2 separate regions of the Homo sapiens genome follow, and region 1 is linked to region 2. Evidence: promoter capture Hi-C in 16 types of primary human blood cells and fetal thymus (Javierre and others, 2016). All regions are on one chromosome and are shown on one strand. The core of a region is centred on a gene start or on the middle of the fragment in contact, and the rest is flanking DNA. Distances in the headings are between cores, read along the strand shown.

Region 1 (6,061 bases), core at 3,084-5,583, 150 kb after region 2:
AAAAATGCGTTTAACAAGAGCAGCCGTTCCCCGTGTGGTATGTGACACCTCACAGGGCATGGGGCTCATGCCAGCTAACAGCCGAGGTGCTGAGGCCAAGAGAGGCAGAGGACATTACTCAGCTGAGGAGAGGGAAACCCAGACCTCAGAGTGTCCTCAAAGCCAGGCCTAACCAGTCCCAGGCTCGCCCAGAGCCAGCAGGGCTGCTCCTAGGACAGGTAGGACTTGAGGGCTTCTGTGGCCAGGCTCTGAAGGTGACACTTCTGGCTGAGCTCACAAAACATCTCTGCACAGGAGTTCTCTATGACACAGAGCTGCCTCATTCATTACAAGACATCCCACGGGCCAGCCTGGCTTCCCTGCTTCTGGTGCTTAACAGAGACAAGGAAAGATGGGCTCATTTGTGGCTGCAGGTCTTCCACGACAGGCACGGTACCAAGACTCAAGAGCCTAATTAAAATGAATACCCTCATTCCTCAGGAGAGGTTATCTCATTTCTGAGCTAAGTGTTTCTGACCATCTTCTGAAGAAAAATGTAAGGTGGCTGCTGTGGGGGAAGGAAAACCCACCACTCAGTCACTAAAACCAGAGCTCACCCACGGGAGTCCCAACTTGCAGGATCCATCCAGGCTCTCCAGAGGGCAGTGCCTGAGGCCACAGTGAATCGCCAACTCCAGCCTGCAAGGTCAGAGCAGAGCCTGCCGCAGGGGCTTGTCTCTGGCCTGATTCTCTGGCTTGCGGCTGTCTGATGGCCCTTATACCCTTCTCTGCTGTCACCTGGACTAAGGCAGGCTACTGATGTGGCACTGTGCACACCAAACATCTGGGGGCTAGAGAGAATGTTCCTTCTGTGTCTAGGCATTGAGGCCTGTGGACAAGCACAGCCTCTGTCCTTTCCATGGAAGGAGAGCTGGCTCCAAGCCGTGGAGAGCAGGGAGATCATGAAACAGCCAGGTCCTGCCTCTTGCCACAGCCTGAGCCCAAGCCTGAGCCCTTCCCACCTTCAAGCTCAGCCTCAGTTTCTATAGCTAATCCTGATTCAGGTGGAAGCTCTGGACCAATGGTTTTCAAATCATCTGCGGTGGATGGATCTCATGTTGCAAACAGATATCCTTCACCAAAGACCACTGGCCACAGAACAAGGGAAGCAACCTAGGCTGACAAATGAAGACAGCCTGGAGCCCACCTATTGGCACCCCCACTGGCAGGTGGCCCCTACAGAGAAGTACAGTAGCTCACACCAGCCCAAGGCTCTGGAACCACATGGAAGCCTTGGGCTGCAGGTGCCACTGTGTTCAGGTGTGCCATACATGGGCAGGGGCCGCCACTGTGCTGCCAAGAGCCAGCCTCCACTGGACTCAGCCCTTCCTGTGCTCATCAGGCCCTCCCCAGCACCCCAGGTTGCCCCTCTGGAGCCTCTGGAAGCTTCTATGATTCCTGCCTGTGCCCTCAGCAACTTGCCTTGTCTTCCAAAGTTTCTCTTCCACAATCTATGGTTGTCATGCCTGCCTGTCAGCCTGGCCTCCCTCCAGAGGAGGGTCTGAGCCCACCATGGTTCCTTGGCCTGGGCTAGACACAGGTAAGGGGGCAGCCTCAGTGGACATGGAGCCCAAACGACTTTTGCCTGCCCTCCTGCCGATGGCAGGGAGAGGACTAGAGGTGGTCATGGAAGGCTTCTTGGAAGAGACCAAGTCTCAGGAAGAGCCAGCAACGGGGACAGGATTTAAGGCTTCCTCGCTATATATACTTTGGTGGCCCCTCAGGCATGACCTTGCCCTGCTTTGACTTGGGAAGCTGAGGCAGGAGAATCGCTTGAACCTGGAAGGCGGCAAGTTGCAATGAGCCGAGATGACTCAAGCAGCCGCAATGACCATGCTGGATCGGGCCAGGGCAGGGTACCTGCTCTGAGCTGTGCCAGAGCCTCTTACCTAAGAATTTGAAGCTGGAGCCAGAGATGGCAGCCACAAAGCCAGGCAAGAGCCAGGGCAGGCCAGGCCCACCTACAGAACGAAATTATGGAGGAACAAAGAAACCAGGCTACAGAGGGAAAGGACACAGAGGGGACACCGGGAGAGAACCAGAAATGGGGGTGTCAGAGAGAGCAGCTGTGGACACACCTCTCCCCTTGGATGCTCCACTTCCTGCACCCTGAGCACAGGCCCCACTTGTGTTTCAGCCAGTCTCAGCGGGGTTTTGTTCCCTGCCACCAGTTGACCCTGGATAGAAAACCATGAAAAAATAATTTTTAAAAAACTAATTAGTAAAACAGATCCCTGTATGTATTAGTCTATTCTCATCTTGCTAATAAGGAGACACCTGAGACTGGGTAATTTATAAAGGCAAGAAGTTTAATGGACTCACAGTTCCACATGGCTGTGGAGGCCTCACAATCATGGTGGAAGGCAGCCAGCCCGGTGTCTCATGCCAGTAATCCCAGCACTTTGGGAGGCCGAGATGGGCAGATCACTTGAGGTCAGGAGTTCGTCAGCCTGGCCAACATGGTGAACCCTGTCTCTACTAAAAATACAAAAATTAGCCAGGCATGGTGGCACACACCTGTAATCCCAGCTACTCAGGAGGCTAAGGCATGAGAATTGCTTGAACCTGGGAGGCGGAGGTTGCAGTGAGCTGAGATTGCACCACTGTACTCCAGCCTGGGCAACAGAGCGAGACTCCATCTCAAAAAAAAAAAAAAAAAAAATCATGGGGGAAGGTTAATGAGGAACAAATTCACATCGTACATGGCAGCAGGCAAGAGAGCACGTGCAGGGGAACTCCCCTTTATAAACCATCAGATCTTGTGAGACTTATTCACTACCATGAGAACAGTATGGGGGAAACCACCCCATGATTCAATTATCTCCACCTGGCCCCACCCTCAACACGTGGCAATTATTACAATTCAAGGTGAGATTTGGGTGAGACACAGCCAAACCATATCACTGTCTATGGAGGTATATCCAGTGTGGGTAGAAGACATCCCACATGCATGAGACCATCACACACAGATCTGTTGTCAACTAAGGACCTGAGCTGAAGAGCCTGGAATGGTAGTGATGACGACTGGCATTTGGAAGCTGTTCCACGTGCTTCCCTCTCACCTAGACTGTTTTGTATTATTTAATTTAATTTAACATTTTTTTTGTTTTTGAGATGGAGTCTCTCTCTGTTTCCCAGGCTGGAATGTAGTGGCGCAATCTCCGCTCACTGCAACCTCTGCCTCCCAGGTTCAAGTGATTCTCCTGCCTCAGCCTCCCGAGTAGCTGGGACTACAGGTGCGTGCCACCACACCCAGCTAATTTTTGTATTTTTAGTAGAGACCGGGTTTTGCCATGTTGGCCAGGCTGGTCTCAAACTCCTGACCTCAGTGATCTGCTCTTCTTAGCCTCCGAAAGTGCTGGGAATACAGATGTGAGCCACTGTGCCCAGCCTAATTTAAAAAGTATTATTGTTGTTGTTATTTACCCTCACAACCATCTCTTTATGTAGACATTATTTGTCCCTGTGATGGGCAAAGAAATTGGAGCTTAGAGAGGGAGAGGGCCTTGTCCAAAGTTCACACAGTGACTCAACAGCAACGCCAGAATCCCAAATTTTGTGTCCCTTTTATTAAGCCATACTTGTTCATACCACCAGGCATGGTACTGTGATTCAGCAAACTGACCGAGGGGCCCCCTCAGAGCCCAGCTTTCTAGTTCCGTAGCCCAGAATACTCAGCCTCAACCTTTCCATGACCATCTCCAGTCAAAGCTCAAACTGGCAAACTGAAATGCAGGGGGTACCCCAGGGAAACGTCACAGTCCTGCCAGCCTCAGGTTTAGGTCAGGCATCCGGTCTGGACCCCGGGGCCCTCCACCTCTGGATTAGTGACATCCTGAGTTGACAGCCTTGCCTGCATCAGAGTCCGGTGCTCATGCCTACAGATCCACGTGAAGGTTAACACCTAAACAGTAACAAAGAATAAACTCCAATCTGATAATTACAAACGAAAGTGCTATTATGCCCTCTAGTTACAAAGGAAACAATTAGCAATCAAGGTAATTGCCCTAGCAGGAAAATGATGCTTAAACTACCTTAATGGCAATAATGCTCTTGGTTTTTGTTTTTGTTTTTTTTTTTGAGATGGAGTTTCTCGCTCTTGTCCCCCAGGCTGGAGTGCAATGGTGTGATCTTGGCTCACTGCAATCTGGGCCTCCCGGGTTCAAGCGATTCTCCTGCCTCAGCCTCCCGAGTAGGTGGGACTACAGGCATATGCCACCATGCCCAGATAACTTTTATAGTTTTAGTAGAGACGGGGTTTCGCCATGTTGATCAGGCTGGTCTCAAACTCCTGACCTCAGGTGATCTGCCCGCCTCGGCCTCCCAAAGTGCTAGGATTATAGGTATGAGCCACCATGCCTGGCCACAGGAATGTTTTAAACTAGACAACCACTTTTGTTATGCTCTGACCTCTTCATAAGAAGAACCCCCACCCCCAGAGGCGTATTACATAACGCCTACTTCTCTACTGAAATAAGGTGGCCACTTCTGGGCTGGCTCCTGGGCTTGGGTGGCAGGCTAAAGTCCCATGAGGAGGGGCTCAGAACAAATGCTGTCACCCCCAGGGTGAAAATCCAACTCAGTTTCTCTGAGAACTGAACACCAATCTCCTTTGAGCTCTGCACATGCATTCAAACTCACGAGTGACCCATTCACCCTGGGCCTCTTTCAGTTAGCACTGATTTATACAGGTCTCTCAGGGGTAAGCCGCAGCCATCTGTATGGGTCATAGGGTCACATCTAAATCCAAATTGTTCACACCTCCTAAAGAATAAGACCATCATTTTCCTATGCTACTTTCTGGTGGCTCCTTCTTCTCCTAATGTGGATACCTGGGAACTGACTGTGCTCTCACTAGCAACTCCCCAACCCACGCCCCTCACCCTTTACCCTGCAGGGCCCGTGATGAGGCCAAGGGTCAGAAGACACATCTTGCCAACGCCCAGCCCTCCTTCCTTGAGAAGGGCCCGGATCCTCTCCCAACTGAGAGCTGTTAACCTCTCTTTGGTTTCTCTGAACTGAACAGAGCCCAGCTTGGCTGCTGGAAGCACATGTGCGGCCCCTTTCTCAGCCCTCTGCATTCCCTTTTCTACTTCCTGCAAACTCTCTAAGACAGGGAGAGGACTGGCTCCTTTAAATAAACTTCATTCCAACCCACTGTTAATTTGTTAGATATGATCATAGCACTTTGGTTATGTTAAAAAAAAAAAAAAAGGAATTCTGATCTTTTAAAGATACATCCAGACATGTTAACAAATGGGATGCTATGACCTCTGCAATGGGCTTCAAAATGATAGAGACAGAGGAAGAGGATGGAGGCATAGAGACAAGGCTGGCCATGAGCTGGTAGCTGGTAACTGTGGCATCTGGGTGACAGGTATGTGACGATTCCTGAGAGTCTTCTGTTCACTTCTGTTTATTTTGTATAACAACATTTTTTTTTTTTAAGAGAGAGAAAGTCTTGCTCTGTTGCCCAGGCTGGAGTGCAGTGGCGTGACCTTAGCTCACTGAAACCTTTGCCTCCCAGGCTCAAGCAATTCTCCTGGCTCAGCCTCCAGAGTGCCTGGGATTTCAGGTGCGTGCCACAACGCCCGGCTAATTTTTTTTTTTTTTTTTTTTTTGTATTTTTAGTAGAGATGGGATTTCACCGTGTTGGCCAGGCTGATAACAACAGTTAAAAAAAAAAAAAATTAAATCCCATCCCAGAGCTTTTTTTGTAGCATCCTTAAGCCCAACTGTTCTGAGGTTTTTACCTGCACCTCTGTCAATCAACACGTTTACGGAGCAGCAACTATATCCAAGGTGCTGCTAAAGCTGCAAAGAGTGAGCCACTTGGCCCTGACTGCAGTGCGCCCTCAGGATGCACCTCTGTCCTTGACCTGCAGAGTCCTGTCCTCTATTTTATCACAATCCCCCAAAACCTCATTTCCCAGACTGAGCACTGGTTTTTCTCTCTCCCAAAACCAAGATGGGCAGTCAGGTACTCCCCTTCCTGGCCATATGGAAGAGACTGAGTCTAGCT
Region 2 (6,097 bases), core at 603-3,102:
CCCATATGGGTCTTCTTTATTCTCATGAACCACAGAGCATTTCATGTGTTGGATATATTGTCTCCTACTTACGGACATTTGGGGTTGTTTCTGTTTTTGTTTGTTTTGTGACGGACTCTTGCTCTGTCACCCAGGCTGGAGTGCAGTGGCACAGTCTCGGCTCATTGCAACCTTCACCTCCTGGGTTCCAGCGATTCTCCCCTCTCAGCCTCCCAAGTAGCTGGGACTACAGGTGCGTGCCACCATGCCCAGCTAATTTTTGTATTTTTTGGTAAAGACAGGGTTTCACCATGTTGGCCAGGCTGGTCTCAAACTCCTGATCTCAAGTGATTTGCCCGCCTTGGCTGGGATTACAGGCATGAGCCACTGCACCCGGCCAGTCACCATTTTCATCCGGTAACTTGCAATGCACCAGGCCTTACCAGGGCCACTGTTGGGTTCAGCGGACATTTCCTTCTTCAAGCTGGCAAGGCCTCAGACAAGTCACTGCCCATTTTGGCTCCTGTTCCTCCTCTAAAATAACGGAGTTGGGTGATGGCAGAGGCTTTCCAGCTTATTCAGCCTCAGGAGTACCTAAAATTTATCCAGAAGCCCATATGGAAAGCCAGGAGTCCTGGAGCTGCTCTGGTTGAAGCTAGGATGGGGGCCCAGAGCTCCCTGCTGTTCTTGACCCCCAAATCTTTGCTTCCAAGATTCACTGGCCCCTACCTGCTACCTGTAGGCCTTCACCTGCTTACTTGTGTCCGATGTAGGGATTATGGGCTTACTCAGCAGCCATCCTCATGGCCTAAACATTTGGCCAATTTCAGTGTCCCCGAAGGGTGAAGGAGGTCTGGGCTTCCATGGGGCCTGAACTGCAGGTACCTTCAGCACTTCCTGGGGTTCTGGACATGTCAACAGCTGCCCACCAAGGCCTGGAAGATAAGGAGGGCTCACACCACTAGTGCAAACTTGGATCAATGAGAAGGGAAGGATGCGACAGACGTATCCCTCCTCTTTTCTTGTCCCCTCTGGATTCTGTTGAGATGCTTCCAGGGATTCTCCGAGGCCCCTTCCTGCTCCAGTAACTGCAGGTTACTGGGGAAGCTGTGGCCAGCTCTAATCCCCTACTTTTTTTTTTTTTTTTTTTTGAGACAGTCTCGCTCTGTAGCCCAGGCTGGAGTGCAGTGGCGCCATCTTGCCTCATTGCAACCTCTGCCTCCAGGGTTCAAGCGATTCTCCTGCCTCAGCCTCTCTAGTAGCTGGAATTACAGGCGCGCGCCACCACGCCCGGCTAATTTTCGTATTTTTAGTAGAGATGGGGTTTCGCCATGTTGGCCAGGCTGGTCTAGAACTCCCAGTCTCGAGAGATCCATCTGCCTCAGCCTCCCAAAGGGCTGGGATTACAGACGTGAGCCACAGCGCCCGGCCTAATCCCCTACTTTGATTTACTGTCCCTCCCCACATCATTTCTTCCCTTATTGAAAGCTCTGGGTCCTCCCCAATGCCCCACCATGTAAACCAATCTGTCCTGCTGGGTTTGGGGCACCGCGGTGGGCAGGGGAGAACCCGTTTGTCAGAAGGTTCAGAGTTTCTGAGTTCCTCATGCTTAATCATCAGCGGCCACAGCACAACAGTGGCCGAGGGTGGGTTGTAAATTCTCACCTGGCCTAGAGGACGCAGCCACGACCCCAGCGCTTGGCCATCTCTGTAGAGGATTCGCGGGTGGACCATGCTTAGTCTAACAGGGTATGGTTATTAACGCCCGTTATGAACGGTTCATAACCAGCCAACGGTTATGAACTGTGGAGGGCTTCCGCAATCCCGCCACACGCTCGAGGCGGAAGCGACAAGACGCCTGCGTGGTTTTGCTGGCGCGCCGCACGTGCCCGTACCGTGACCTGCGCATGCGCTTTGGAAGCCTCGCGAGCTTCCTGCGGCACTCAGGGTTTGGTGCAGGTGCCTGTGGCCTTTGGGGGTTTCCTCGCGTCTTTTAGGTAGATGCTTCCAGGGATTCTCCGAGGCCTCTTCCTACTCCAGTAACTGCAGGTTTCTGGGGAAGCCGTGGCCAGCTCTAATCCCCTACTTTTTTTTTTTTTTTTTTTTTGAGACAGTTTCGCTCTGTCGCCCAGGCTGGAGTGCAGTGGCGCCATCTCGCCTCACTGCAACCTCCGCCTCCAGGGTTCAAGCGATTCTCCTGCCTCAGCGTCTCTAGTAGCTCCTTACAGGGAGAGCAATGGCCCACTCACACCCGAAACAGAGAAGCGAGGATTTTTTTTTTTTCCTGCAAGCTGCTGCGCATTAATTAAGTCAAAGTGCAGAAGAAATCTTTTCTACCCCGGCTTTCCAACTTTCCGGGGGTCATTAGGGAAAAACATTCGTTGAACAGATGTCCTTAGGGTCGGCGCTTTTATCTCTGAAAGGAAGAACACTTGGAAAGGAAGCTGCGTGTTTTTCCTCTTGCCCGGAAGAGCCAGCCTGTATGTCTCCCTTTTGACCCGAGGCCAAGCGCCTGAAGCCTCTTGGACTTAGTTAACATTAGTCCGTTTTCTATGCGTTTGTCCTTGGCTTGGTTTATGGTGTTTGTTGAAAGGTAAATGTTTTAAAGTTTTGGGGATTCCTATCATGCTTAGGGAAATCAATCCCCTTCTCTCTTCTCCCCTTCCCCCGATATTCTCTTACATTTTGTTGCAATGTTTATTATTTATTTTTTACTAGACAACCTATAGTCCTTATGGAATATATTTTAGTATAAGCTGTAAGGCAAGAGTCAAGCGTCTCCCGCCCCCAGGTGGAAATTAACTTATTCCAGCCCCACTTATTAAATGAGCCTCTTACTAAATGAGCCAACAGGTGTGGACCTGTTGAGTTTGAGATCCCGCTTAGACGCCAGTGGAGACATCTGTGGTCAGTTGCACAAGTGAGTCTGATGTGAGGGGTGAGGTTCTGGCTGAAACTATAATTTTGGGCGTCATCAGCATCTAAATAGATCAGTCTCCCTCACTTGTTAAAAAATGCTTTTCCAGTCTTAGAATGTATTCTCTCACATGAAATATTTAATCGCATTATCCAGTTCGTTCCCATCCCTGCCTAAAAGAAAGTGTTCCATTGGGATTTAAATTATAATTGCATTAAATTTAAATGGAAGTTTTGGGAGCATTGACATTTTTGTGATATTAATCCTCCCCCAGAGGATAAAAAATGGCTTTCCATTTACTCAAGACTTCTTTTAGGTCCTCCAATAAGATTTTATAAATTCTTTATACGGGTTCTATAACTTTCTGGTTAAAATTATTCCTAAGTGTTTTATGGTTTTTGTCTATTGTGATGGAATACTTTTTTCCATCTGTATTACTCATTGATTATTAATATGTAGAAAAGCTAATGATTTAATATAATTCACTTTCTGTCTTAGGAATTCTGGTAGTTTTAATAAGCCTGTTTTTTATAGATACAAATTTGCCAGTATACCAATTTATTTTGTCAGTTTGCTTTAGTTAGAACCTCTGAAACAATGTTGAATAATGATCCCGGGCTGTTTCTGATATGCGTGGAAATCCGCATGTGAGAGTTGAGCGGTGAGAGTTTCGGCAAGTGGCTTTTAAAATGTTGGGGTTTCCTTTAGTTTGTCTTGCGGCTGCTGGGACTCACCGGTAGTTGCCAGTCCTGCCTGAGTTGGGCGCCAGGGGGCAGCAGTCACACAGAATGAAACGTGGGCTGTGCCCCCTGGAAACTGGCTGAATTTTGTCAAATGCCTTTACACCTTCTATAAAAAAAAAAAAAACATAGAGTTTTCTCCTTTATGCTGCTGTTTTTATTTTCAATTAGACATTGAGTAGCTATGAAAGAATGCTGTATAAAATATTTGTAAAGGAGGCCTGAAGCGGTGGCTCACGCCTGTAATTCCAACACTTTGGGAGGCCAAGGTGGGCAGATTGCTTGAGCCCAGGAGTTGGAGACCAGCCTGGGCAACATAGCAAGACGCCATCTCCACATTAAATACAAAAATTAGCTGGGTTTGTGCTGAGGCCGAGGTGGGAGAATCGCTTGAGCCCGGGAGGTGGAGGCTGCAATGAGCTATGATCGTGCCACTGTACTCTAGCCTGGGTGACAGAGTGAGAAACTGTCTTTAAAAAAAAAAAAATTATAAAGCAGAAAAAGTATACATCAAACACCCATCACCTGGCTTGTTATATTATAAATCCCTGTGTGTCTTTCCTGGACCCCTTGTCTCCCTGCTCAGAGGTCACCATCATCCTGAATTGTGTTTATTACTCTTAGTATTTCATTTTATAATTATGTTTCTTTACTCTTCATTATATTTTTATGAGCTCTGTGTATTCCTGTTTTATTTTGCCCTAAGTGTTTTATTTTGCTTTGTTTTTGAACTTAGATGGACATAACGTTTTATTGTTTTGCGGTTTTCTTTTTTTTTATTTTCAACATTGTGTTCCAGAAAATCATCCATGTTGTTGGATGTAACTGTAATTTATTCATTTTCACTACTGTATAGTATTCTGGATGTTAACCTAAATAACAATAAAGAGAGGTTCTCAAAAGAAAATATACTTATTTAGGAACAAAGCATTGCAAATTTATGTATATATGTCTTTTCTTTTAGAGAGCCTCTTTGTTATTTGGGTTGCTACATCACTGCCGAATACTAGACAGTAATGAAAATGAATGAATTACACCTGCAATTGAACATAATACAATTTTAAATGCATTCCTCTGAGACTGGCAACTGTGCATTGTTTATGTCTCCTGTTGCATGTGTGCAGGACTTTCTCCCTGGGACAGCTGTCCCCAACATTTTTGGTACCAGGGACTGGTTTCATGGAAGACAGTTTCTCCATGAACTGGGGTGGGGGATGGTTTTTGGGATGATTCAAACGCATTACATTTATTGTGCACTTTATTTCTGTTATTATTACATTGTAATATATAATGAAATAATTATACAACTCACCATAATGTAGAATCAGTGGGAGCCTGAGCTTGTTTTCCTGGAGCTAGATGGTCTCATCTGTGGGTGATGGGAGACAGTGACAGATCATCAGGCATTCGATTCTCATCAGGAACATGCAACCTAGATCCCTTGCATGCGCAGTTTACATAGGGTTCTTGCTCCTATGAGAATCTAATGCCGCCGCTGATCTGACTGGAGGCAGAGCTCAGGTGGTAATGGGTAATGGGTAGCGGCTGTAAATACAGATGAAGCTTTGCCTGCTTGCCTGCAGCTCACCTGCTGTGGGTCTGGTTCCTAACAGGCCATGGACTGGTACCAGTCCGTGGCCTGAGGGTTGGGGACCCCTGCCCTAGGATATAAACCTTGGAGTAGAATTGCAGAGTCATAGTTCATGCCCATTTCCACTTTACTAGGTAATGCCAGAACCGGTTGTGTTAATTTTCACACTCATTGGCACTGGATAAGTGCTTTGTCTACTTTGTTGCCTGTGCTTGATATTGCTAGACTTGAAATGTTTTGCCAGTCTGATGAGGGCATAGTGGTATCTAAGTGTGGTTTAATTTACATTTTTCTGATTTCCAAAATGTGGTTGAGCACCTTTTCTTATATTTATTGACCATTTATTTTATTTATTTTTATTTATTTTTGAGACAGGGTCTTGCTCTGTCGCCCAGGCTGGAGTGCAGTGGCACAATCGCAGCACGCTGCAACCTCCACCTCCTGGGCTCAAGGAGTCCTCCTGCCTCAGCCTCCCAAGTAGTTAGGACTACAGGCATGTGCCACAATGCCTGGCTAATTTTTGTATTTTTCGTAGAGACAGGGTTTCGCTATGTCACCCTGGCTGGTCTTGAATTCCTGGACACAAGCGATCCGCTTGCCTCAGCCTCCCAAAGTGCTGGGATTACAGGCATGAGCCATTGTGCCTGGCCTTATTGACCATTTAGCTTTCTGTGATGAAGTGTTTGCTCAAGATTTGGGCCCATTTTTCTATTTTATCTTTTTCTTATTTGAATTTTGTATATTCTGGAGACATGTTCTTTATAAGTTATCTGTGTTGCAGATTTTTTCTCCTATTCTTTGGTATGCCTTCTTTTTTATTCTCTTTTTACAGAGTCTTGAGGACTAGGAATCCTTAATTAAAAATGTAGA

The links. Contacts are between HindIII fragments. The CHiCAGO score rates a contact against its expected background, and 5 or more counts as called.
Region 1: a contact is called between a fragment that was not itself captured here and the fragment with the promoter of MORC2-AS1 in region 2, in 1 of 17 cell types (endothelial precursors). The highest score is 5.0, in endothelial precursors.

What each region holds. Positions count from the first base shown.
Region 1 is chr22:30,766,738-30,772,798 of GRCh38, reverse strand. The region is part of intron 2 of OSBP2 (oxysterol binding protein 2); the gene reads right to left. Among named protein-coding and RNA genes, the nearest start is that of MIR3200, 38 kb to the right of the region's middle. RefSeq lists an enhancer at 1-133. The HindIII fragment of the contact is 5,811 bases long and covers 1,428-6,061 here.
Region 2 is chr22:30,918,063-30,924,159 of GRCh38, reverse strand. MORC2-AS1 (MORC2 antisense RNA 1) reads right to left here and starts at 1,852. Exons shown (of 2, transcript NR_026920.1): 1 at 1,645-1,852. LOC107985544 (a long non-coding RNA gene) reads left to right here and starts at 2,381. Exons shown (of 3, transcript NR_146603.1): 1 at 2,381-2,572. The HindIII fragment of the contact is 12,308 bases long and covers 1-5,201 here.